Linked DNA regions of Homo sapiens: all the other regions are linked to region 3. Evidence: promoter capture Hi-C in 16 types of primary human blood cells and fetal thymus (Javierre and others, 2016). All regions are on one chromosome and are shown on one strand. The core of a region is centred on a gene start or on the middle of the fragment in contact, and the rest is flanking DNA. Distances in the headings are between cores, read along the strand shown. Region 1 overlaps PRKCB (protein kinase C beta). Region 2 overlaps PRKCB (protein kinase C beta). Region 3 holds the start of CHP2 (calcineurin like EF-hand protein 2). Region 4 has its middle 8.2 kb from the start of LINC02194. Region 5 overlaps PRKCB (protein kinase C beta). Region 6 overlaps PRKCB (protein kinase C beta). Region 7 overlaps CACNG3 (calcium voltage-gated channel auxiliary subunit gamma 3).

The links. Contacts are between HindIII fragments. The CHiCAGO score rates a contact against its expected background, and 5 or more counts as called.
Region 1: a contact is called between a fragment that was not itself captured here and the fragment with the promoter of CHP2 in region 3, in 1 of 17 cell types (neutrophils). The highest score is 5.2, in neutrophils.
Region 2: a fragment that was not itself captured here is called in contact with the fragment with the promoter of CHP2 in region 3 in 1 of 17 cell types (neutrophils); the score reaches 5.2 in neutrophils.
Region 4: a fragment that was not itself captured here is called in contact with the fragment with the promoter of CHP2 in region 3 in 3 of 17 cell types (neutrophils, naive CD4 T cells and activated CD4 T cells); the score reaches 5.8 in neutrophils.
Region 5: a contact is called between a fragment that was not itself captured here and the fragment with the promoter of CHP2 in region 3, in 1 of 17 cell types (neutrophils). The highest score is 5.8, in neutrophils.
Region 6: a fragment that was not itself captured here is called in contact with the fragment with the promoter of CHP2 in region 3 in 1 of 17 cell types (monocytes); the score reaches 5.4 in monocytes.
Region 7: a contact is called between a fragment that was not itself captured here and the fragment with the promoter of CHP2 in region 3, in 6 of 17 cell types (neutrophils, total CD8 T cells, naive B cells and 3 more). The highest score is 9.0, in neutrophils.

The regions. Positions count from the first base shown.
Region 1 is chr16:24,089,104-24,092,522 of GRCh38, reverse strand. The region is part of intron 5 of PRKCB (protein kinase C beta); the gene reads right to left. Among named protein-coding and RNA genes, the nearest start is that of MIR1273H, 110 kb to the left of the region's middle. The HindIII fragment of the contact is 3,547 bases long and covers 1-3,419 here.
Region 2 is chr16:24,149,314-24,152,515 of GRCh38, reverse strand. The region is part of intron 9 of PRKCB (protein kinase C beta); the gene reads right to left. Among named protein-coding and RNA genes, the nearest start is that of MIR1273H, 52 kb to the left of the region's middle. The HindIII fragment of the contact is 3,641 bases long and covers 1-3,117 here.
Region 3 is chr16:23,753,030-23,756,468 of GRCh38, reverse strand. It overlaps CHP2 (calcineurin like EF-hand protein 2), which reads right to left and starts at 1,443. Exons shown (of 7, transcript NM_022097.4): 1 at 1,353-1,443; 2 at 736-808; 3 at 542-622; 4 at 276-406; 5 at 20-81. The coding sequence starts at 1,419. RefSeq lists an enhancer at 910-1,555. The HindIII fragment of the contact is 3,392 bases long and covers 559-3,439 here.
Region 4 is chr16:24,226,282-24,229,478 of GRCh38, reverse strand. No RefSeq gene overlaps it. Among named protein-coding and RNA genes, the nearest start is that of LINC02194, 8.2 kb to the left of the region's middle. The HindIII fragment of the contact is 2,105 bases long and covers 390-2,494 here.
Region 5 is chr16:24,125,058-24,128,367 of GRCh38, reverse strand. All of the region lies in intron 9 of PRKCB (protein kinase C beta), which reads right to left. Among named protein-coding and RNA genes, the nearest start is that of MIR1273H, 76 kb to the left of the region's middle. The HindIII fragment of the contact is 3,780 bases long and covers 1-3,162 here.
Region 6 is chr16:24,205,229-24,208,414 of GRCh38, reverse strand. All of the region lies in intron 16 of PRKCB (protein kinase C beta), which reads right to left. Among named protein-coding and RNA genes, the nearest start is that of MIR1273H, 3.7 kb to the right of the region's middle. The HindIII fragment of the contact is 2,799 bases long and covers 1-2,783 here.
Region 7 is chr16:24,257,346-24,260,772 of GRCh38, reverse strand. The region is part of intron 1 of CACNG3 (calcium voltage-gated channel auxiliary subunit gamma 3); the gene reads right to left. Among named protein-coding and RNA genes, the nearest start is that of CACNG3, 2.7 kb to the right of the region's middle. The HindIII fragment of the contact is 1,263 bases long and covers 991-2,253 here.

The sequences.
Region 1 (3,419 bases), core at 522-3,021, 340 kb before region 3:
TTTCCACAAAGCCCACAGGAAAGGCTGGCTTCTTTCATTTAGCATAACGTTTTCAAAGTTCACCACATTATAGCATGTATCAGCACTTCATTTTTTTGCATGACTGAATAATATTCCATTGTATAGATATCCCACATTTTGTTTATCCATTCAGCAGTTGATGCATAGTTGGGTTGTTTCCACTTTTTGGCTGTTGTGAATACTGCTGCTATGAACATTTGTGTACCCCAACACAAAAGGTCACATATTGTATGATTCCATTTACATGAAACATCCCAAACAGGTAAATCCATAGAGACAGAAAGTAGACTACTATTAATAGTTGCCAGAGGCTGGAGGGAAAGGGAAATGGGGAGTGACTGCTTAATGAGTACAGGGTTTCTTTTAGAGGTGATGAAAATTTCTGAGAACTAGATAGAGATGATGGTTGTCCAACACTGTGAATATTCTATAAATGTCACTGAATTGTACGTTTAAAAACAGTTAATGGTTAATTTTATGTTACGTTAATTTTACCTCCATTCAAAAAGAAAAAGCTAAAGAAAGGAAGAATTACCCTCTAAACCAAGGTACACCTATTATCCATGTATCACCCATAACCAGCACCCAGACAGCCCATAGAGAGAAGGCTGGAACAATGTCAGCAGCATTAGAGCTCAGCTCCACCCTGACTCCAGAACACCCAGGTAAAGAGGCTATAAGGCTAACATGGTGAAACCCTGTCTCTACTAACAATACAAAAAAATTAGCCAGGCATGGTGGCAGGTGCCTGTGGTCCCACCTACTTGGGAGGCCCAGGCAGGAGAATGGCATGAACCCAGGAGGCAGAGCTTGCAGTGAGCCAAGATCATGCCACTGCACTCCAGCCTGGGCGACAGAGTGAGACTCCGTCAAAAAAAAAAGATGAACTTACAGGAGAAAAGGAGGCAGGGAATCAGCAGTGAAGATGCAACTGGCTATAGAAAGGATGAGGGAGACTAAATCATCAGCTTGGAGAAACAGGAAGTAGTTAATTAGGAATCAATTCAGAAACCAGTAATGCAGGTAGTCAATGGAAGCAGACTAGAAAATGAGAATTGCACAGCTCTTAAGGATACAATGTCAATCATCTCACTTACAGTAGAACAATCCACAGTAATACATTCAATCCAAATCGACTCTAACTATCTGCTAAAAGGTGAATACATAATGACTCCTATCAGGAATGCAAAGATGGTTCAATCTTAGGAAATCTATTTTCAATATATTCATCATATTTATAGATCAAAGAAGAAAACCATAAGATCATTGTAGTTATCTAGAAACAGCAGAGAATTTTAACAGGATAAAGGCTATCTGAAATAACAGCACCATGGTTCATGATAAATGCAATTCCATTAAAGTAAGGAATAAGACAAAGATATCCATTACCATAGCCATTATTTAATACTTTTTTTTCTCGTGTTCCATAAGTGCAGTAAGAAATAAAGAGTTACCCTCTAAACCAAGATGCACCTATTATCCATGTATCACCCATAACCTGCACCCAGACAGCCCATAGGGAAAAGGCTGGAAAAATATCCACAGCATAAATAAAACCAGAAATTTTGTAAACTCAAGATAACAAGAAAAACAGATTAGAAGAAAGAATATTGGAAAGTAGGAGAGAAAGCACCCCCTCATTTCCTGCAACCTTTGCTCACCCCCAATCATAGTTATCTCCTACCATGGTCACGCTCTGGAGCCTATTATCCCAGAAATTATACCACTTTCTCAATCTCAGTTTCAAGTACCCTACTATCTTACACCAATTTCTATTTTTCCAATTCATTAGTTCTATTATTCTACTGCAATAAATCTTCCCCTATTCGTCAGTCCATTCTCCACCAATCAGTCCCTCGAACCCAACACATTCTCTTGATCTCCCTATTCCCTCTTGCTTTTACTCCATTCATATCCAGATTCAATTTTATGGTGCATTTTAGCTACTCCTTTGGAAAGACCCTCAACTCCCTTGCCCCTCTTTCTTTTTATTTTACTTGTCTCACATGACCCCAGCCCTACTTAAATTCAAATACCTGTCCTTTCTTACTCTGTCCTTTTCCTACACTCAAACAGCTGACCATTGCTGGAAAATAAATAAGACTGACTTCCCTAAAATGATACAGCTAGTAAGGGGTTGAGACCGAATAAATGAGATGGGAGAAGCATTGAATCGGCTACCAGGATCAAGCTGTAACTTATTCTGTGCTGACATTTTTTCTGCACTCCAGCAACATGGCAGTGTCTTCTATTTTTCCACAGGCTGAATTCATCTCCCATCTCAGCTTGCAAGCTGCATCTCATTTTTACACCAAAAGCAAGATGTTGACCTTGATCAGTTAAGTTCAACAAGCAAGTCCCTACTAAGTGCTAAGCATTCTGCTAGGCCCTGGGGATATAGGGGACAAAATAAAATGTTAATCTTGTCCCCAAGACAGACCATATAGTGTCATGGACACAGGGCTATAAGATCCCAGGGTCCGCATCTTACCAAGCAGTTACTTCACACATATGAACCTCAATTTCTTGATCAATAAAATAGGTTGTTACAAGAGTAAAATTGGATAAAGAATATACATGTTTAGCACAGAACCTGGAACTTAAAAAATACTCAATAAATGTTAACTGCTATATATTACTGCTATTTCATTATTATTCTTATTCATATGCAATGCCCTCTTTCACTACGTTTTTGTTGTGTGTGTGTGTGTGAGAGAGAGAGAGAGAGAGACAAGGTCTCACTCTGTCACCCAGGCTGGAGTGCAGTGGCATGATCATGGTTCACTGCAGCCTCGACCTCCCGGGCTCAAGTGATCCTCCCAACTCAGCCTTCCAAGTAGCTGGGACTACAGGTGCTTGCCAACCTATGCCTAACTAATTTTTAAAAAAATTTTTGTAGAGGTGGGGGTCTCTCTATGTTGCCCAGACTGGTTTCAAACTCCTGGATGCAAATGATCCTCTAGCCTTGGTCTCCCAAAGTGCTAGGATTACAAGTGTGAGCCACCATGCCTTGCCTGTTTGTCTATTTTTATTATGAAGAGTTAACCATTTCCACACGTACTGACATCAAATGGAACCATTTGTGGTTTTCTTCTTAACAATGCATTCGATGTTTACTCGAACCCTTCCACAGGAGAGCTTCTTAAACCTTAGTGTGCATAAAAATTACTCAGAGGACTCATGAGACACATGTATCTGGCACCCACCCCCACAGATAGATTCTGATTCCCTAAGTCTGCAGTGAAACCTGTCCATATGCTTTTCTAAAACATTTCCATGTGATGCTGATGCTGCCAGTCTATAAGACACACATTAAGTAACATTGTTCTGGAGAATAATAATTTCTCAAAATACCCATGCATTTTCCCCATAGAATATAATATCCAACTGTTACTTTC
Region 2 (3,202 bases), core at 48-2,547, 400 kb before region 3:
GAAGAAGAGTTCTCAGCTGAGAAACTCCAGAGCCCAGTAAGAAGGGCTTGGTGCTGAGCTGTCCTTGACAGTGGACACCCTCTGATATGGTTTGGCTGTGTCCCCACCCAAATCTCGTCTTGAATTGTAGCTCCCGTAATTTCCACGTGTTGTGGGAGGGACCTGGTGGGAGATAATTGAATCATGGGAGCGGTTTCCTGCCTACTGTTCTAGTGGTAGTGAATAAGTCTCACAAGATCGGATGATTTTATAAGGGGTTTCCCCTTTCGCTTAGCTCTCATTCTCTCTTGACTGCTACCATGTAAGACGTGACTTTAGCCTTCCACCATGATTGAGGCCTCCCCAGGTCCATTAAACCTCTTTTTCATAAATTACACAGTCTCGGGTATGTCTTTATCAGCAGCATGAAAACGGACTAATACACTCTCCCTGACCCATCACCACCGGTCAAGGCACCATCCAACAATCCTGAATATCTGCAACTATCTCCCATTCCCCCAACCAAAACGAGAGAAGGAGGGGCCCTAGACACCTTCAGTGCAGATGCAGTCATGATAGGACATCTTAGCCTTCCACATGGAAGAGAGACAGGGCAGAATGGCTGGGAATTTCCCCCTTCACCAGGGACAGGGGTGGACATCCTACATCTGTGTCAATTACCCCCATTTCGTAGATAAACACACTGAGGCTCAGGGAGATTAACTTGCTTCAGCTAATGACTGTTCTGAAAATGCAGCTCTGACTGTGCCACTTGAATGCTGAAAGCCCTTCAGTGGCTCTTGAAAGCCAAACAATTCCATGACCACATCCTGTTCTTTCTTTTCCTTTGAACATTCGACTCCCACTGTCTATGACGTCCTTCCATGCTCTTGCACTGCTTTGAAAATCTGAGATTCCACTGGGCTGTTATCTCCTCCTCTAATCTGGAGGTTCCATTCAGACCAAATCGGCCACTACCTCCTCTGGGCACCAGGGCTGCTTTGTAACTATGTCAGTTACTGTAGCTCAGGCATTTCCGCACTTCAATCATTCATATCCGTTTTTTCACATTTCTTCCTGCCACCTAAACTGTTATTTGCTTAGCATTTTAAAAATCTAGTCACATTTCAACTTAACTAAATTTGAAAAGGAAACTTTATATCACCACTATTAATGGCAAGCCAGTATCACAAGTCATAAATGGAAGATAAGCATAAAAATAAATAAAAGCAAAGCGGTGCCAGTAAATTCTAGCTATATACTGCTGGCTGCTGAAGGTTCTGAGTCAGGCTCTGCATCTTCTCCTTGTTAAAGGAAAAAATTGTATTAGAAAGTTGTTAGAGAGCATATTGTCATCAAATGAGATTTGCTTGTTCAAGTAATTAGAAAGAGTAAAAGGAGACACAGAAATAACCTTATCATAACGTGATTTAATTTTATTTCATAGTGCAACTACACGGCACCTAAAACAATCTCAAGTAGCAGTTGAAATCTTCTTGCAAATCAGCAATGCTATGTGCTCCGCATCGTAGGAGATACTATTGCATTTGTACAGATAGTTTTAAAAATCAATAAACAGGGGTGTGTGAAGATTCCCAGTGTCTTGCCCTGCCCTCAACAACATGCCCTATACTGATTAACGGAAAACAGAACGGGCATGCATAAGGCATAGCAAAAATTTAGACATAGAAGCGAACTGAATTCTAGAGCAGGAGTCAGGACACTTTCTCTATAAAGGGCCAAACAGGAAATATTATAGGCTTTGCGGGACGGTCTGGATCAAGAGAATGAGTGTGGCCGTAGTCTAATAAAACTTTATTTACAACAATAAGCAATAGCCTGGGCTCCAATAGTTTGCTGACCCTTGTTTTGCAACAAGTGTTTCAAGAAGATCAGGGAAAATAAGAGTAACCACATGATAAAAAATGACTGCAGTTTAATTTGGAAATGAAAACCCTAGCATGCCTTTCACTTCTTCCAACTCTGTGTTATTAGAAGAACCTTCTGATTGGGCAGTGGATACAGCTGGTCACAGCTGATTGGATCAGAGGTAAGTTCCTCAACCTGAGCCAAGCCAATCGGATTCCCCCTCCCAAGAATTTGAATTAGGGTACTCTGAGGAGTCAGTCCTGGGTCCCTCAACAGAGAATACACAGATCTTCCTAGAGTGGTCCTTTTTTGTTTTGTTTTGTTTTGTTTTCTGTTTTTCGTTTTTGAGACAGATTCTCACCCTGTTGCCCAGGCTGGGGTGCAGTGGCATGATCTTCGTTCACCTCCTCCCGAGTTCAAGCAATTCTCTTGCCTCAACCTCCCAAGTAGCTGGGATTACAGGCGTCCACCACCACACCTGGTTAATTTTTGTATTTTTAGTAGAAATGGGGTTTCACCATGTTGCCCCAGCTGTTCTCAAACTCCAGACCTTCAGTGATCCGCCCATCTAGGTCTCCCAAAGTGCTGGGATTACAGGCGTAAGCCACCACACTCAGCCTAGCGTGGTCCTTTTCTACCACTGTGCAGGCAAAGAGGAATAAAATAGATGTTTGAGGCAGGGGGAAAAAAACAAAGAAGGTAAGAGAACAAGCAGAGGCCTTGCTTTCAGTTTCCAATCTCTCATGAGGCTTAGCCATTTTCTGTTTGAAACCTTTATGTTCCTCCAATAAAGTTATTTTTATTTATATTACTTTGAATGGATTATGTATCTTAGAGATCCCTAAAACAAAATTATTACATAGGTAGCTCAAATTCTTACTAATAATTAAAATACATGAAGCCAAGTAGCATCATGTCAGTATGTGACCTAAAACAAGGCAAATTCCAGTCTTTATAAAGGACAGTGCCTCTTGCCTATGTCAGAATCACTTGAGGGTCTTTGCTTACCATATAGATTCCAAGCACTCCCTCTCCTTCAGGAGCTCTGGGCTGTGACCTGGGAGTCTGCATTTTAATAAACATATTCTTCCTATGTTGATTATAATCACCAGATATTATCAAAATTGATTCATTTAATAAGGTGGCTAGGAGATGTCAGTAGGTAAAGCTGACAGAATCCTTCCATCCTGATTTTCCTAACACTTTCTCAGCAGTCATTAATAGGATGAGAGAAAACTTTCCTTTTCTTCTTAATATTCTAATCAAGCTTTCATTTTCGATATAAATCTCTCTGTCCTCTCTTGGAGTTACATTTTGAGAGCTGTCCCCATAGCACGAAGGAAGTGATACTTTA
Region 3 (3,439 bases), core at 194-2,693:
GCTCTCGCTTTCTGCCAACCTGCAGCATCTCATGCCTGGAGATCTTCCCATCGCGATCCAGGTCATAGAGCTGAAATGCATCTGGGGAGAGGGTGGGAGGGGGAAAGGAAGGTAGGTCTTCCCTGGCTCTCTTCCAGCAGCCACCTTCCTTCCCCCCACCTTGGAGGAGGGGGGAGGTTGTCAATGCCCTCAGGAAGGGAGTGGGAGATCCCTGGAGCCTGTCCCTGGTGTGGGTACATCTGCATTCTCACTTGTGCAGGTCCTCACAAACTCACAGTGAAGTTTGTTCCTTCTGCTGTTGAGAGGTTCAGGTTTCTTGGGGTCTTGGGTTTCTGTGTCCTCATCTTCTACAGGGCGAAAATGAGCCAAGACCCTGACAAAGCCTGGGAAATCCACTCGCTGGCTCCTGGGGAGACGGGACAGAATGGAAAGAGGTGGTGGTCACCTTGGCCATCACTTTGCCTCCGTCTCTAACCTCCCCTCCCACCCACTCACACACCGGTTTTCCCGCCTTCACCTCCCCACGCCCAGCAAGCCTCACCCATCGGGGAAGAAGCTTTCTATAATTCGGTCTCCCAGGGGGTTCACGGCGAGCGCCCCTATCTGCTGGAGATCCATGCGGCTGCAAAGCCAAATTTCAAAGAGGGTAAGGCAGAGATGCCAGACGGAGGGTCAAAGAGGGACATGGAGTCAGAGAGACAGAGGCCAGAAGTTATGAGGCCGGCTCCCCCTCACCTCAGGTAGCCCTTCTTATTCCTGTCCAGTGCCCGGAACCGGTGGTGCAGGCGGAGCAGGCTGGCTTGGGAGACTGCGGGAAGGAGAGTGGGGTGGGGGTGTGTGACTCTGCAGGGCCAGCTCCAGAAACCCGCCCCAACAGGCCAGGAAGATGGGCCAGAACAGCGGGGGCTGGCTGGAAGGGGCGATCATCCCGGGGAATCAGGGGTTGAGCTGGCCGGGGCGGAGGGAGAGTGACACGACCCCGCGAAGATCCAGGTTCAAGACCCGGGCGGCTCGCAACCTCCCGAAAACCAAAGAACCAAAGCCATCCCTTCCAACCGCCGTCAGCTCTGCCTTCAGCTTCGAGCCGGGCTGGAGGACACCTGGGTGCCTGGATTCCTCTGGACTCCGACCCCGTGAACCCGGATCCTCCCCAGACTTGGAGGCTGGGACCCCTAGGTTAACCCGCCCCTAACCCAGCGATCCCAGGCACAGGGGCCTTGGTCTTCCAGCTCCGGGGAGCCCCGGACCCCAGACTTGTAAGTTCGTCCATCCTTCAACCCAACCCCTTCCCTAGCCCCAGACGCCTGGGTTCGCCCCGTCCCCTCCGCAGCCGCCGACGCGGGCGCACTCACAGCCGGTCTCTCGCCGAATACTGTCCCCGTCGGGAATGACCGCGGCGTGGGAGCTGCGCGACCCCATGGCCGAGCTGGAGGCGGAAGGGCCGGAGCAGCCACCCGGACCCACGCGTTCTCTCCTCCCGCCGGAGAGGCGTGGCCGCCCCAGTGGCCCCAGGGGGACGAAGGCCACAAGCCTGGCGCGCGGCCAAGCTCCAGAACCCCGGCGTGCCTCTCCTCCCACCCGCGACCCGGGCGAATGGAAAACAATGTGCAGGGTGGCGGGTCAGAGGGAGGCTGCGAACAACGGGCTGTTTCAGCTCCGAGATTTTGCGATCCGCACGGGAGAGGCTGGTCGAGTCCCAGGCCCCGCGTTTCCACGCCTCCCCCGGGGCCGGTTCCCACGGTGCGCCCTGACACCTGAGCCACCTCCTCCTTCGCGGGCCCCGGGCGCTCCCAACCCCAGGGCGCTCCCCGGCGTCGACGCTGAGGAAGCCTGGGAGACCTGACCTCCTCTGTAGAGACCACGCCCTGCTGGAAGGCGGGTGGCCTATGGGGAGGGAATCCTGGGGGGAGGGGGGAAGAGGCATCGAAGAACTCCCAAAGACGGGGAAGTGGGGAGGGGCGGCGAGATGAAGGGTGTGCGTTAGGTTAAGTGGAAAGAGCACTGGTTTGGGAGTCCTTGTTGGAATCCCAGCCGTGCCCGTGACTCTGGGAAAGTCAGTAAATCTTGGTTTCATCCCTTTTGTTCGGTTCACATTGCCTTATTGTTGTTTAATTGAGCCAATGCTTAAAATTCAGGAGATTTAACCCAAAATCCACATTCTTGGCTTTTCCTGAGAAATCAGAAGTTCTATCACCACCAGGCCCAGAGCTGTCTTCTGGCCACAGTCCCTCCAAGCCCAATTCACTCCCTTAGGTACCTACTGATCCCGTAGAGCTCCAGACTGGGAATGACTTAGTCCTCTGAACAGCCCTCCAGAGCCATGGGACTCCTTGGCCCAAGAGAGGGTTACAGACATCACTGGGACTAGGCTTAAAGCAAGAATGACAACAAGGGCTCTTGTTTACCACGCTTTGCTAAGCACTTTACGTGCATCCGTTCACACATTCCTTGTAGGCCCTGCTGGGCTGCTTTCTTCTAATTTTACGTGGTGGAGGCTGCCGGGGGCAAGTTGTGAACTAATTATGTAAAGCGTGCATTCTCAGTGCGGTCTCTATCTCACCCCAACGGGGCAAAAAATAAAACATATTTTTTATGTACAAAGCACAGCATACATACAGCACATAAATAGATATACAGTATAGCTGTGATATTGAAATTTCAGGGCAGACGTGGAGGCTCATGCCTGTAATCCCAGCACTTTGGGAGGTAGAGGCAGGAGGATTGCTTGAGCCCAGGAGCTCAAGACCAGCCTAGGCAACATAGTGAGACCCCATCTCTACAAAAGAATACAAAAAAAAAAAATTAACCAGGTGTCGTGGCACATGCCTGTAGTCTCAGCTACTTGGGAGTCTGAGACAGGAGGATCACTTGAGCCCAGGAGGTTGAGGCTGCAGGGAGCCATGATCACGCCATTACACTCCAGCCTGGGTGACAGAGTGAGACCCTGTCTTGAAAAGAAAAGAGGCCGGGCGCGGTGGCTTATGCCTGTAATCCCAGCACTTTGGGAGGTCGAGACGGGCGGATCACCTGAGGTCAGGAGTTTGAGACCAGACTGACCAACATGGAGAAACCCAGTCTCTACTAAAAATACAAAATTAGCTGGGCGTGGTGGTGCATGCCTGTAATTCCAGCTACTCGGGAGGCTGAGGCAGGAGAATCGCTTGAACCCGGGAGGTGGAGATTGAGGTGAGCCTAGATCGCGCCATTGCACACCATCTTGGGCAAAAAGATCGAAACTTGGTCTCAAAAAAAAAAAAAGAAAGAAAATAAAATTTCATGGGGTAGGGGTGAGGGTGGGGAAATTAAAAAGACTAGGGGAGGCGTTGATAATGAAAAAAAAACAGGTCGAGAAACTCATTTGTCAAGGGACAAACACTAGAAGTGTCCACTTTTGAAAGTATCTTTAAACCGTTTCCCCCATCATAATTGCACATACATA
Region 4 (3,197 bases), core at 193-2,692, 470 kb before region 3:
AGTTTCTGATCATGCTAGAATCGAATCAAAGTGACACATCTCTATACTGAAAGTGTTATGCTCTTTCTCTCTCTCTATATATATGTATATATATATAGATGATAGATAGATATATATGTATGTGTGTGTGTATATATATGTGTGTGTGTGTGTGTGTGTGTGTGTATATATATATATATATATATATATATATATATATATATATATATATATATATGGAGAGAGAGAGAGAACCTGTGTCCCTTCCTGAAAAATATTTATAAAATCTTACCATGGCCAGGATATTCCAATAAGCCCCCACACGCCCACCCTTGATCAAGAGCCTTGATTCATTCTTAAGAAATCCCTCCATTTTCTACAGAGCTCTTCTAGTGAAATCTTGTCAAGCTTTCCTTCCTGAAGTCTGTATTATAAAAACAAGACATCTTATTTTCCTTTTCCGGTTATGAAATTATATGATAATATTTGAAGATGTTTCAAAATACGACTCACCCCCTATTCCAAACCCTGACTCTCACTGGTCTATGAGTGATTCTTGTAGATTTTTAAAAGAATGCCTTTCCCCAAATGGTAAGTTTTGAGATGATGCCTGACGACTGCTATCGAATGCTTAACATTTGAAAATAAATTCACAAAACACAGAAGATGAACAGATGGTCTGTGAGTTTTGTCCATTCTCTGTAGCTTTCCACCACTCTCTGCAGCAACAGACAAAAAGGAGTTTGAGCCAACCCCAGGTGGGTGTATTGCGAGGGAGAGGCGAGCTGTCCCCAGGCCTGCACCATACGAAGCATCCGTTGTCTTTGGGGGCCCCGCAGGAGGGCTGTATCCACAGAGACAGGGTCCTTGCTCTTTATTCCAGCTGGTGGGGACAGTGCCAATGGGAAAGGGGTTTAGAGGCATCAAGGTCCTCTTGCTGTCAGAGCAACCTTGGTAGGGTCATCTCATCTCTTTTCCTGGGACAACCAGGAGTGAGGGTTCATCCCTGACTGCACTTGCCTGCTGGCATGGCAATACTCGGGAACTTGGTTTTGAAATCCCAGCTTGGTCAATTTCACAGCAGTTGGGTCACACGCTAGGCTATGATCTGATCCACACCAGGTGTATCAGTTTCCTGGGGCTGTGGAAACAAATTACTACAAACTGAGTAGCCTTAAATGGTGACAGGTGTTCTCCCACAGTCCAGAAGGCCAGAAGTATGAAATCAAGGTGTTGGCAGAGCTGTGCTCTGTCTGGAGGGTCTACGGGAGAATGCATTCCTTGCTTCTTCCAGCTTCTGGTGACTGTCGCATCCTTTAGCATCTAGTGCCTGCATCTCCCTCTGCCTCATCTTCTCATTGCCTTCTCCTCCGTGTGTCTGTGTTATCTTCCTCTGCCTCTGCCTTGTAAGGAAACTCGTGATGACATTTAAGGCCCACCCTGTTAACCCAGGGTCATCTCTTCATCTCAAGATCCTCCATTCAATTACTTCTTGCAAAGACCTTCCTCCCCACCCCCAAAATAAGGTAAAATTTCCAAATTCCAGGGTTAGGACTTGATATCTTTGGGTGGTCGTTATTCAGCTTACTACTCTGGGCCTTACTCACCACTACAGATGCCCTAATCTTGTCCTGCTTTCCCTCCCTTTCTGGCCAAGTCTCTTCCCTTCAAAAATGTCACACAGACCCTAGAGAAACAAAGCTGGGATGGTTGAAAGAACCCTGGGCTTGGGGTCAGTAAAAACAAGATTGGCTGGATTTGTCAGCGGCAGTCACCTGCCTCTCTCTCTCTCTCTCTCTCTCTCTCTCTCTCTCTCTGTGTGTGTGTGTGTGTGTGTGTGTGTTTCTACTCTCTCATCTCCACAAGGATGGCAGTGGTCAAGGTAAACTGCACCTCTGCCTCCTTGCTGCACTATTACAATGGCCTCCAATGATCTTCCTGCTCCTCCTTTTTCTCTACAAACTATATTCTCTAATACAAATCAGATCATGGCCATTATTTGCTTAAAGTTTCTGTAGGGAGACAGAATAAAGGCCCTCCCAACACATTCACATCCTAATCGCTGAAACCTGTGAATAAGCTCCTTACGTGACAAAGGGGACTTTGCAGATGTGTTAAAAATCTGAGATGGGGAGATTATCCTGGATGATCTAAGTGGTCCCAAGGTAATCAGAAGGGATGCAGAAAAGTCACAGATGGAAAAGCAGACATAGAAGTTGCAGAGATGCACTTTGAAGATGAACAGGGGCCATGAGCTAAGGAAGCAGGCAGCCTCTAGAAGGTGGGAAAGGAAATGAAGCCAATTCTCCTCTGGAGCCTCCAGAAGGAACCAGCTCTGCTAATGCCTTGATTTTAGTCCAGCAAGGCTGCTTTTGGACCTCTCACCTCCAGAACAATAAGATAATATATTTGTGGTGTTTCAAGCTATGGAGCATGTGACAATTTGTTACAGCAACAACAGGAAAGTAATACAGTCTTCAAGGGATTCTCATTGAACTTAGAACAAAGTCAAGCTTCTCAGCAGGGTCTACAAATGCTTACGTGATCAGACTGCTGACTTCCTCTTTGGAAGGAATCTTCTACCACTTGGTCCAATGTTTACCAGTCTTTAGCCACATGGTTCTACTTTCTGCTCCTTGACAGGCCAGCCCTCAGGTTCTGGCTCTTGACATTCCTTCAGTCTGGAATGCTTTGCTCTGGATTCTCATCTTTGAGCTCAAAATATCACCTTGTCAAGAAGGCCACCCTCCTTGGCGCCTTAGTTAAATAGTCGACAACCCAGCTATTTATTGACAACCCAGCAGGTCAAAACCCTGCTGTCTCCAATCATGTTATTCACCATATTTAATATGCATTTAATATGCATCCCTCCTAAACATCAGCTGCATGAGAAAAGGGCCCGTGCTTTGTTCCCATCTGGAACAGTCATTCATTCTAAAGAGAGATTTGTAGAATGAATGAATGAAATAGACCTTCCATGTCCAATGATTTCTCTCCAAAGCCATGGGGTCCCTGCCATGGGTTCAGCCCCTGTGGCATATTAACAATAAGCAAATCACCCCCAATCCAGATTTGAGCCATGAGATGATAGGGGATGAGATTTGGAGGTCATTTCTGCTTGTTCCCCCTTAACATAATTTTCAGAGAGTCTTCCCTCTTAACATAATTTTCTGGTATTTCCTCTTTGTTCATCTATTTCCCTTGAAAGTCCTGTGCTG
Region 5 (3,310 bases), core at 23-2,522, 370 kb before region 3:
TGTCTTGCTCTGTCACCCAGGCTGGAGTGCAGTGGCACGATCTCGGCTCACTGCAACCTCCGCCTCCTCGGTTCAAGCGATTCTCCTGCCTCAGCCTCCTGAGTAGCTGGGAATACAGGCGCCTGCCACCATGCCCGGCTAATTTTTGTATTTTTAGTAGAGACAGGGTTTCACCATATTGGCCAGGCTGGCCTCGAACTCCTGACTTTGTGATCTGCCCACCTTGGCCTCCCAAAGTGCTGGGATTACAGGCGCAAACCACCGCACCTGGCCATTAGGGTTTAAAAACATGTTTTGTTTTGTTTTGTTTTGTTTTCCTGGGTTAAGGGAGGTGGAAACAGATTACCCCAAAGCCCCATCACTTTCATCTTTCGAAGGGGAAGAGCAAATCACTGCAGCTGTGTTCTTCTGTTTATGGAGATTGATCTATATACCTAACCAGACTGCAAAATGTTCAAAGTTGGAATTCAAATATAAAACCTGCATTAATTTACAACCCTAGTTGGCAACACTAGAGTTGCAAAGGATTACTCTGTTTTAAAGGATCATAGAGGTGTTTGTTATTCTACTTTGCTTTCATGACTTACTGTTGTTTTCATCTATGATTTATCTGATGCTATATCTCCAGTCTGGAACAGAGTTCTCAATTATTATAACAGTTTCCATGGAGACATATGATCTATTCTCTCATTGCTCCCCAGTGATTCATTCTCCTACGACTCCACCCACTACCCCCCAACCCCAATCCTTTCCATGGGACTCTCCAGAACTTCCAATCCTCCATCAAACATCCTCTCGTCTGTTTTGTTAAGTGATCAAAAACAGGCGTAGTACATGAACTTTTGAGTTAATAAGGACAAGAATAAAAAATGTTAAATTAGCTCAGGGGGACTGGAAAGACGCAAATTAACTGAATAAAAGTGTTCACATAGGGAAAGCAGTAGCAGTAAGTGGTCAGAGAAAGACGTGAACTTGGGTAGGAGCAGGACTTCTCAGTGTTTATCCTTTTAATATAATCTTAATGATGAATCATGTGAATGCATTGCTTATTAAGAATATCATGGCCGGGCGTGGTGGCTCACACCTGTAATCCCAGCACTTTGGGAGGCTGAGGCAGGCAGATCACCTGAGGTCAGGAGTTCAAGACCAGCCTGACCAACATGGAGAAACCCCGTCTCTACTAAAAGTGGAAAATTAGCTGGGCGTGGTGGCGCGTGCCTGTAATGCCAGCCACTCGAAAAGGCTGAGGCAGGAGAATCACTTGAACCTGGGAGGCGGAGGTTGCGGTGAGCTGAGATTGTGCCATTGCACTCCAGCCTGGGCAACAAGAGAGAAACACCGTCTCAAAAAAAAAAAAAAAAAAGGAAAAAAGAAAGCATATATATATATAATTTAGGACAGGTGCGGTGGCTCACACCTGTAATCCTAGCACTTTCTGAGGCCACGGCAGGATGATTGCTTGAGCTTATAAGTACTTGAGCAGCCTGGGAAACATAGTGAGACCATGTCTCTACAAAAAAATACAAAAATTAGGTCAGGTGCGGTGGCTCATGTCTGTAATCCCAGCACTTTAGGAGGCCGAGGCGAACGGATCACATGAGGTCAGGAGTTCAAGACCAGCCTGGTCAACATGGTGAAACCCTGTCTCTATTAAAAACTACAAAAATTAGCCGAGCGCGAGACTGAGGCAGGAGAATCACTTGAACCCTGGAGGTAGAGGTTGCAGTGAGCCGAGATGGCGCCATTGCACTCCAGCCTGGGCAACAGAGTAAGATTCTGATTCAAAAAAACAAAAACAAAAATTAGCCAGGCATGGTGGTGCATGCAGTTATTTGGGGGTCAGAGAAAGATGTGAACTTGGGTAGGAGCTGGACTGCTTGAGTCCAGCATGTCGAGGCTGCAGTGAACCGTAATGCACCACTACATTCCAGCCTGGACAAGAGAGTGAGACTCTATCTCAAAAAGAAAAAAAAAGTGCTCATTTAATTTGTAAAAACTCAGCTTATTAGAACCTCTTCTTTATTTAGGCCACTTTCTTCCTCATCATCAGAGAAACTGCTCCATGTTTGAAATCTCAATGCCTCAATTCTTCCTAACATTTTACGTATCTTGACCTCATCTATTTTTTTTTCATCCTTAGACTTCTAAACTCCCTTTTTCCCACCCAGGTGATGACCCTCTTTATGCTAGACATCTTCCCCAACCCAATCTAGATACCATTTTCATTCATGTATTCAACATGCTTTTCTTGAGCACTTGGTACAGGCTCTGTGGATCTGCAGTGGACATCTCTCTTCCCAGAATCCTTAACTCTCTTTCTTCCATAATCTTCTAGTTCACTGATTCTACTAATCCCACGCTTAGTTCAAATCCACCATCTCCTTCTCCATCTCCACCCCAGGGATACTCAGAGCTGCTGGTAAAAACCATACAACGTTGTGGACCACTGCCAACTGCCTATTCCCAACCTTAGGGACTGGATGGGCCATCTTACTGGCTGCCCTTACTCTCTATTCCCATCCCATGCTGAAGCTCTTCAGACTTTGAGCCATCATTTCAGATCCCTTAGTCCATCTCAGTGGATGCCCTTGCCACCCACAGACAGAGAGAATCCACGCATTCAATCTGGGCACTGAATGAATTCCATCCCTAGGCTCTGAAATCACAGTGGCGACCACGACGGAGAAGATCCCTACTCTTGTGGAGCTTAGACCTTAGAAAGGGAAGAGAGAAAAAATCAACAAGGACACAAGAAAAGCATTGCTCAGTGATGGGTGCCATGAGAGAGTTAAACATAATGGACAGTGAATGAGCGGCAACTTTTCAGTGGGTAGTTGGGGAAGATTTTTCAGAAGAAGTGGCGTCTAAGTTGAGATGTGAATTGCAGGAAGCAGCCGGCCTTGCAAACAGCAAAAGGAGCTGAATCACAAAGCCTCTAAGGGAGGAAGGAGCTTTGTGTGTTTCAGTGACCCAAGAGCTGATGTTGTGGCCAGAGCACAGTGGGTGATGGGGAGGAGAAAGAAGAAAGGAAGTCACACAGAGAACAAGGGCCAGATGATAAAGGGTGATACAAGCTAAGGATGTAACATAGAATTGCTTCTAATTGGATGGAAAGTCATTGGAGGGTCTTAAGCAGGGGAGCCCCTTGACCTAATGTAAGCTTTAAAAAATTATTACGGCTACGAAGTAGAAAGTAAATTAATTATAGGTAACAAGATTGGGATTGCAATTAATTATAGGTAACGATTAATTATAGGTAACAAGATTGGGATTGCAATTAATTATAGGTAACGATTAATTATAGGTAAAA
Region 6 (3,186 bases), core at 135-2,634, 450 kb before region 3:
CACGTAAGCTCTTTTTCTTTTTCTCTTCTCTTTTAATTTCTGTTTCATTGAATTAATAACAGAGTCTTGCTGTTGAATGTGGAGTTGGCTTGGTCACCACTGCCACAGGGATCTCTTTTTTGTTTTGTTTTGTTTTGTTTTTTGAGACAAGGTCTTGCTCTCTTACCCAGGTTGGGGTGCAGTGGCGTGATCATAGCTCACTGCCACCTTGAATTCCAAGGCTCAAGGGATCCTCTTGCCTTGGCCTTGTGAGTAGCTTGGGACCACAGCTGCACACCACCATGGCCAGCTAAAGGGATCTTTTAAAGACGCTGACTGGAGTATGCCATTTCCCTGCTCTTATCTGCAATAGCTCCCCATTGCCCAAAGCCCACACTCCTTAGCATGGCTTAAGGGGCCATTTAGGACCTGTTCCTGGACACTTGGTCAATGGCCCCTTCCCTGCCTGTGTCCCCCACCCCCTGAGACACCCTCCAGCCATACTGAAGTATTTCCAGTTCCTAGAACACTCATGAACTCTTGGAGGTGACTCCAGGCCCTTGCACAGGCTGCCTCCTCTGCCAGGAACACTTGCCTTCCACTCCTTCTCCACTCATCCAGCTATCTCCTGTGCATCCTTTCTGTCTCCAGAGCAGTGTCACTTCCTCCACGAGGTTTTCCCTGACCTGTCCTCTATACTCCTGGATTTACCCCATCAAAATACAGGGTGTTCATCAAAGAATCGTCAGAGGAAAGAAAAATTGGGAATCTACTATGGGCCAATAGGGAAAACAGTTAAATAAATAATGATACATCTATTTGATGTATTACCATGCAAAACATTCTTAAAAATTAAAAGAAGATGTAGAAGAATATTAAATGACATAGTTATATAATTACTAACAGTGTGTACAATATCTTCCCATTCTATAAATTATATACACAAATGTATACGTAATATCTGTACACATTTTATACACAGGCTTATGGAGATTCGAAGAATTACAGATGGTTTTAATTTTTTCCTTTTCCCCTTTATGCTTGATTATATTTTAAAAATTTACATAACAATCAGGTATTGTTATTATTATTTTGTAATAAGAAAAGAAGCTGTGAAAGCTATTTTAAATGAGACAGCAATTATCATGGAAGAAATTGAAAAATAGAAATAAAGAGAATGGGAGTATTTGGGTAAATTGTTAAGGTTAGCCTGATGCTACTTTAACATGCTTCATCTTAGTAAAACACTCTAAGGCAGCAGGAGGATCGCTTGAGGCTAGGAGTGTGAGACCAGCCTGGGCAACATAGCAAGACCCTGTCTCTACAAAAATTTAAAACTTCTCAGGGCATGACGCCACATGCCTGTAGTCCCAGCTACTTGGAAGGCTGAAGTTGGAGGATTACTTGAGCCCAGGAGGTTTAGACTGCAGCAAGCTATGATCGTGCCTCTGCACTTCAGCCTGGGTGACAGAGTGAGACCCTGTCTCAAAACAAAATGAAGCAAAAAAACTCTAAAACAAGTGGCTGCTTTGACGTGTATTTTGGTGCTAAGGGATAATAAGGAAGGCTAATATTTGGCTGTTGTAGATCCTCTGCCGAGCAGCATGCTGGACTCTGGCGATACATAAGAGGGTACCTGTTCTTGTCCCCGTTGAGCTTAAGATCTAGCAGAGGACACAGATGCACACACAGGCCACTGCATGGGACCATGGGACAGGTGCTGCCATTGAGCACAGAGGAAAGGAACCCAAGAAGGGCCAGGAACTCTGTCTGGAGGGAGTGACATCTCACTTGAGTGGGACCTGCAAGAGAGACATTGCTTCTTTGGAGGAGGAAAGGAAAGAGCCTGGAGAAGAAATGGAGGTAAAAAGAGGGCATGGACAAGGTAAGATGGTGGAGGAGAGGATAAGGCTCCTCCCTGCTGTCTGTTGCCTAGCCGACTTTGATAACATGAGGCTAGTGGCTCAGGGGAGCTACCTGCCCAGCCTCCATCAAGACACCAGGACACCTTCAGGTTAACAAGACCAGAAGGTCACGATGAAAAGACATCCAAGCTACATAGCCTAGGCAAAAAGACAAGCGCATCTTTCTTTTTCACATGTGCACATCCAGTGAAATGCAGGGTCGTTCCTATGCCTTCCAGTTTCCCACAGCCGAATACAGGAGGGACCCACTCCAGGGAGAATCAGATGCTCAAAGCTGCATACATATTTGATCATTTTAAAAAGTCATTTGTGGTCTGGGTTTTGGCAGAAAAAAAGAGAGATTTAAGTCTCCTTTTTCTGCTAATAATGAAGGTCCCTTACAATCAGGGATCTTTTATCTCTTATGTTTATTTAGGGAGGAAGTCAGTAGGAGAGGGGTCTTTTGTGTTTGATACTAAGTCTGTTTTGTTTTGCTCTTGCTTTTCTTAATTTTCATTAAAAAATAACATCCAGTGTTTTGATTTCCTCCAGATCTCAGTTTAAATGGCACCCTGTCAGAGAAGCTGTTCCAGACCACCTTCAAATAAAGAGGATTCTCATTCTTCCCTCCTGTTATTCTCTGTCAAGATATCCTGTTCATTTCTTTAACAGAAATAAAATCTGGTATATCTCAGTCTATAATTATTAATACATGTTCATTCTCTGTTGATTGTCTATGTTCTCATCTAGACTGTAAGCCACATGAGAGCAAAATCACATCTGTTTTATTCACCACTGCGTTTCTAGAACCCAGGGATGAAAAAAAATCAAATGGACAAATAATAGTGTATGTTAAGCACTAACTATGAGCCAGATACTGTGTTAAGTGTTTTGCAAGCTTTACCTCCTTTAATCCCCCCAAAAGCTCTATGAAGTCCTTGCTGTGCAATGAGAAAATGGGTTTAGTTTAAGTATCTGACCACGATTTGATCCTAGATTTGACAAGAGATCCAGACTCTTCTATCAGTCTCCTACATTTATCGCAGAAACAAACAAGCTATTAAAAAGCACCAAGATGCCAGGCATGGTGGTGCCATGCCTATAATACCAGCACTTTGGGAGGCCCAGGTGGAAGGATCACTTGAGATCAGGAGTTTGAGACCAGCCTGGGCAACATAGAGAGAACCTGTCTCTACAAAGAATTTTTTAAAAATTGGCCAGGCATGGTGGTGCATGCCTGTGGTCCCAGCTGTTCAAGAGGCTGAGGCACGGGGAATCCCTTGAGCCCAGGAACTGGAGGCTG
Region 7 (3,427 bases), core at 373-2,872, 500 kb before region 3:
TGTCTCTCCATGCAAAGCGTGTCCTTTGCTGCCTCTAAGTTTGTGTGTGTCTGGTGTCTCCTGCATCCCTGCTGATGCTGCACAGGCACAGTGAGTGCTCTGAGATCTGAAACTTCTGAATGGAAAAACCCATGTGCCTGGGCATTTTCACAAACTAATGTTTGTACCAGTAGCAGGCTACCCACCAAAGCATGAATTAATGTTTTCTAGCAAATACTCAGAGAGGCAGCACGACTAAGGTTAAGTATTGCCTGCTGAGTTTAGGTGTGTGACCTTGGGCAAGTTATGTAAATCCCCCAGGGCTCAGTTTCCTCATCTGTAAAATGAGGGTAATAATAGTACCTACACAACTGAGCTGCTTTGAAGATGAAAGAGTTAATTTTTCAAAATTCTTCGAACAGCCTGAGCACATAGTAAGTGCTAAATGTAAGGGATATTCTGGTAGGTTAGCTTATTTTTTCCTAGGTATTTTTTAAGGGTTGAAAAAGTGATTATTGACTATTAAAGAGTAATTCAGGAGTCAAATATAAAAATATCAGAAATTTGGATTAAAAATGCCATTTAGGTAATTTACAAGGCTCAAAACTGGCAGCCCATGGGCCAAATTCAGCTACAAGGTAAACTTGGTTTGGCTGATCATGTCACTCAAGGAGGAGAAGGATATAACTTACCTACAGAAATGAAAACTGGAAACATCCTTCTCCTCCTTGAGTGATGGGATCATCCTTAAAACACATAGTCAATACCAGTGCAAATACCAATACATGTTGGCTTTAACATCATAATTGCTTGGAGCACCTTTAGAAAACTCAGATTTTCCTGGTCTACCTCAGACCTATGGAAGCAGGGAATCTAGTTGTGGAGCCCCTGATAATCTAATTTTTTAAAAGTTCCTCATGAGAATCTGATGACCAGCAAAGTTGGGAAACGATGTAGTTTGCTTATTCTTGAATATTTTTGGTGTTGGAAGACCCATCACCTGCCAAAGCTTCCCATTCCACATTGGATAGTTATTTATATTGAGGTAAAACCTGGTTTCCTCTAGCTCCTACTTCTACCTCCTTGAGGCCACACAGAACATCTCAAATCTCTCTTTCATATGACAGCCCTTCAGATATTTGCAGACAGCTGTCATGTTCTCCTTGGCATTCTCTTCTTTTGGATAAAATAATCACATTGTCTCATGGCTCTTTAAAAAAGCACAGAAGAACAAACATTTCTAATTTGACCTCTAAGAAAATGGAGCTACGAAAACCCCCAGTTTTCATTTGACACTTAAAGGACCAGAAAATGAGGATTTTGAGGCTCAGGTGTAGGTAAGAAATACTGAATGGGAAAGGACTGTTCATCTTCATTCTAGCAAAGGATGGAAATGCCTGGGATGGATGCTACCAACTGCATGTGACTTCCCATGCAGAAATCAGAGGCTTCTGCAAATTCCCCAAACACTTGATGTGTTTAGTACACATCTTGGCTTCAAATTTCAGCCAGGACCCACCTAGGTGTTAATTACATGGGTGCAGCCATAGCTAATATTTTATTGTGATTCATTGTGATTTGTGCATCTTACTGTATTTAATACTTCAAAAAAGTGAACAACAACAAAAAAAGCCAGGCCAAGTTGTATGGGGACTGCAACACATTTTCTCAATAGAATTCACCTGCCCAAGGTTATGTCTTCAATTCATCCAATTCCTTCTTGATTCAATTTCTCACTTCTCCCACTAAGCCTACAGAATGCCTGGCTGGGGTTTCAATTCCTTGTACAAACTGTGGGTGTAGGACTTGATGTTGGAAAAAAGAGAAATCATCAGTTGAGAAATTCTTAGCAAGTGTTTAGAAATTTTAGGTCCTACCTCTGCTCTTATAGATATATATTTTTTTCATAGATCATAATGAGGAACGTCAAACTTCATTTTTAATTGTGCATTCTCAGGTTTGATTCCCAGAGGCAGAAGAATTGGAAATGGCTAAAGCACTGTATACATATGTGCCATTTTTGGCTTGGAGGAACCTTAGAACTTCTATGCCATCTCTAGAACCATGTAGATATCGCAACATCCACCAAATCAGTTTTACAAAAGATAATTCAATTCCTTATAGCCAATATAAGAAAGGGAAATATGGAATTTCCCTGAGGTAAATGACTTCACCATACCCAATCACAAATGCTCACAAATATCCAACTTTTGTCATTGTTTAGGAAATAATTATTCTAGAATTTCTGTCAGTATATTGAATACAGTATAAGCTTTAGATAATGTTAATTCAAGACCACCTAATCCAAACGTATCATTTCCCAGATGAATAAACTGAGAGTTGGAGAGGGTAAATGTCTTAACCAAGGCCACAGCGATACTTTGCAGCATTACCCAGGTCTTCTGACTTCACATGATCCTTGCTGCATTAAAGGTAGCCCTTTCCTACCTGGGCTTCCCACCAGTTGCAAATTTGTGTTAGAAACAGAATCAATTGTAGTAGCGCTACGGTCAGGAGAGCAGTTGTTCAAAGTGTCAGGACATGGGAAAAAGGCCAGAGAATGATGCAATATTACACTGGCAAGTGATGTCATAGCATGATTTCCCAAGCGATTTACATAAATGCAAGTTCTCAAGAAGCCCTGACAAATGCCAGCCAGTGAAAATGCAGTGTGAAGAACCAATGGCAAGCAGGGGAGGGGACCACACAGGAAACGCAGATTTCCTTGCCCACCACTGTGACAAGCTTCACAGATTTCTCGGAAGCCTAAGAAAACCCCTACTGCCCCTCTAATCCAGTGACTTCCCTCAGGCACATAGGCTCCAAAGAGCTTTGATTTTCTTCCTTATCTTTCTATTTACTCCCAGTGATATCCAAGCATTGCCTACTGGTGCTGAGAGTGACTTCTGGTGTGGTGAAAGCAAGTTTAATAGTGTGATAGGCTACAAAAGGGCTTTATATTTTTAAATTGCTCTTTCTTCTTCATTATAAGTTATAACTACTCCCTAATTTTTAGAACTAGAAATGACGAACTGCAATTCTTGGAGAATCAGTCTTTTGTAAATGTCATGGAAATACCTTTTTAGGGGTTTGGGAATGATTTAGGAATGAAGACAGGTGGATACAAAATACCAAGACTTCAGTTTTGTTGTGATCCAAACTAATAAAACATGTATCAATAAGGATTTTTTCTTAAAATGTGTGCATAGGGTGTGGGTGGGAGTAGGGGTTTACATATGTTACCCTGTTACTGATTGGCAGTGGAAGTTCATGACAATATCTAGTTAGAGCAAACTCAGGAGAAACTGATAAGTCTATGTTGAGAAATAATGAAATAGCTCAGAATGTGCCAGACCGGGTCAGGATCTCTCTCTCTCTCTCTCTCTCTCTCTCTCTCTCTCTCTCTCTCTCTCTCTCTCTCTCTCCCCCCTCACTTCTTTCCTCTTGT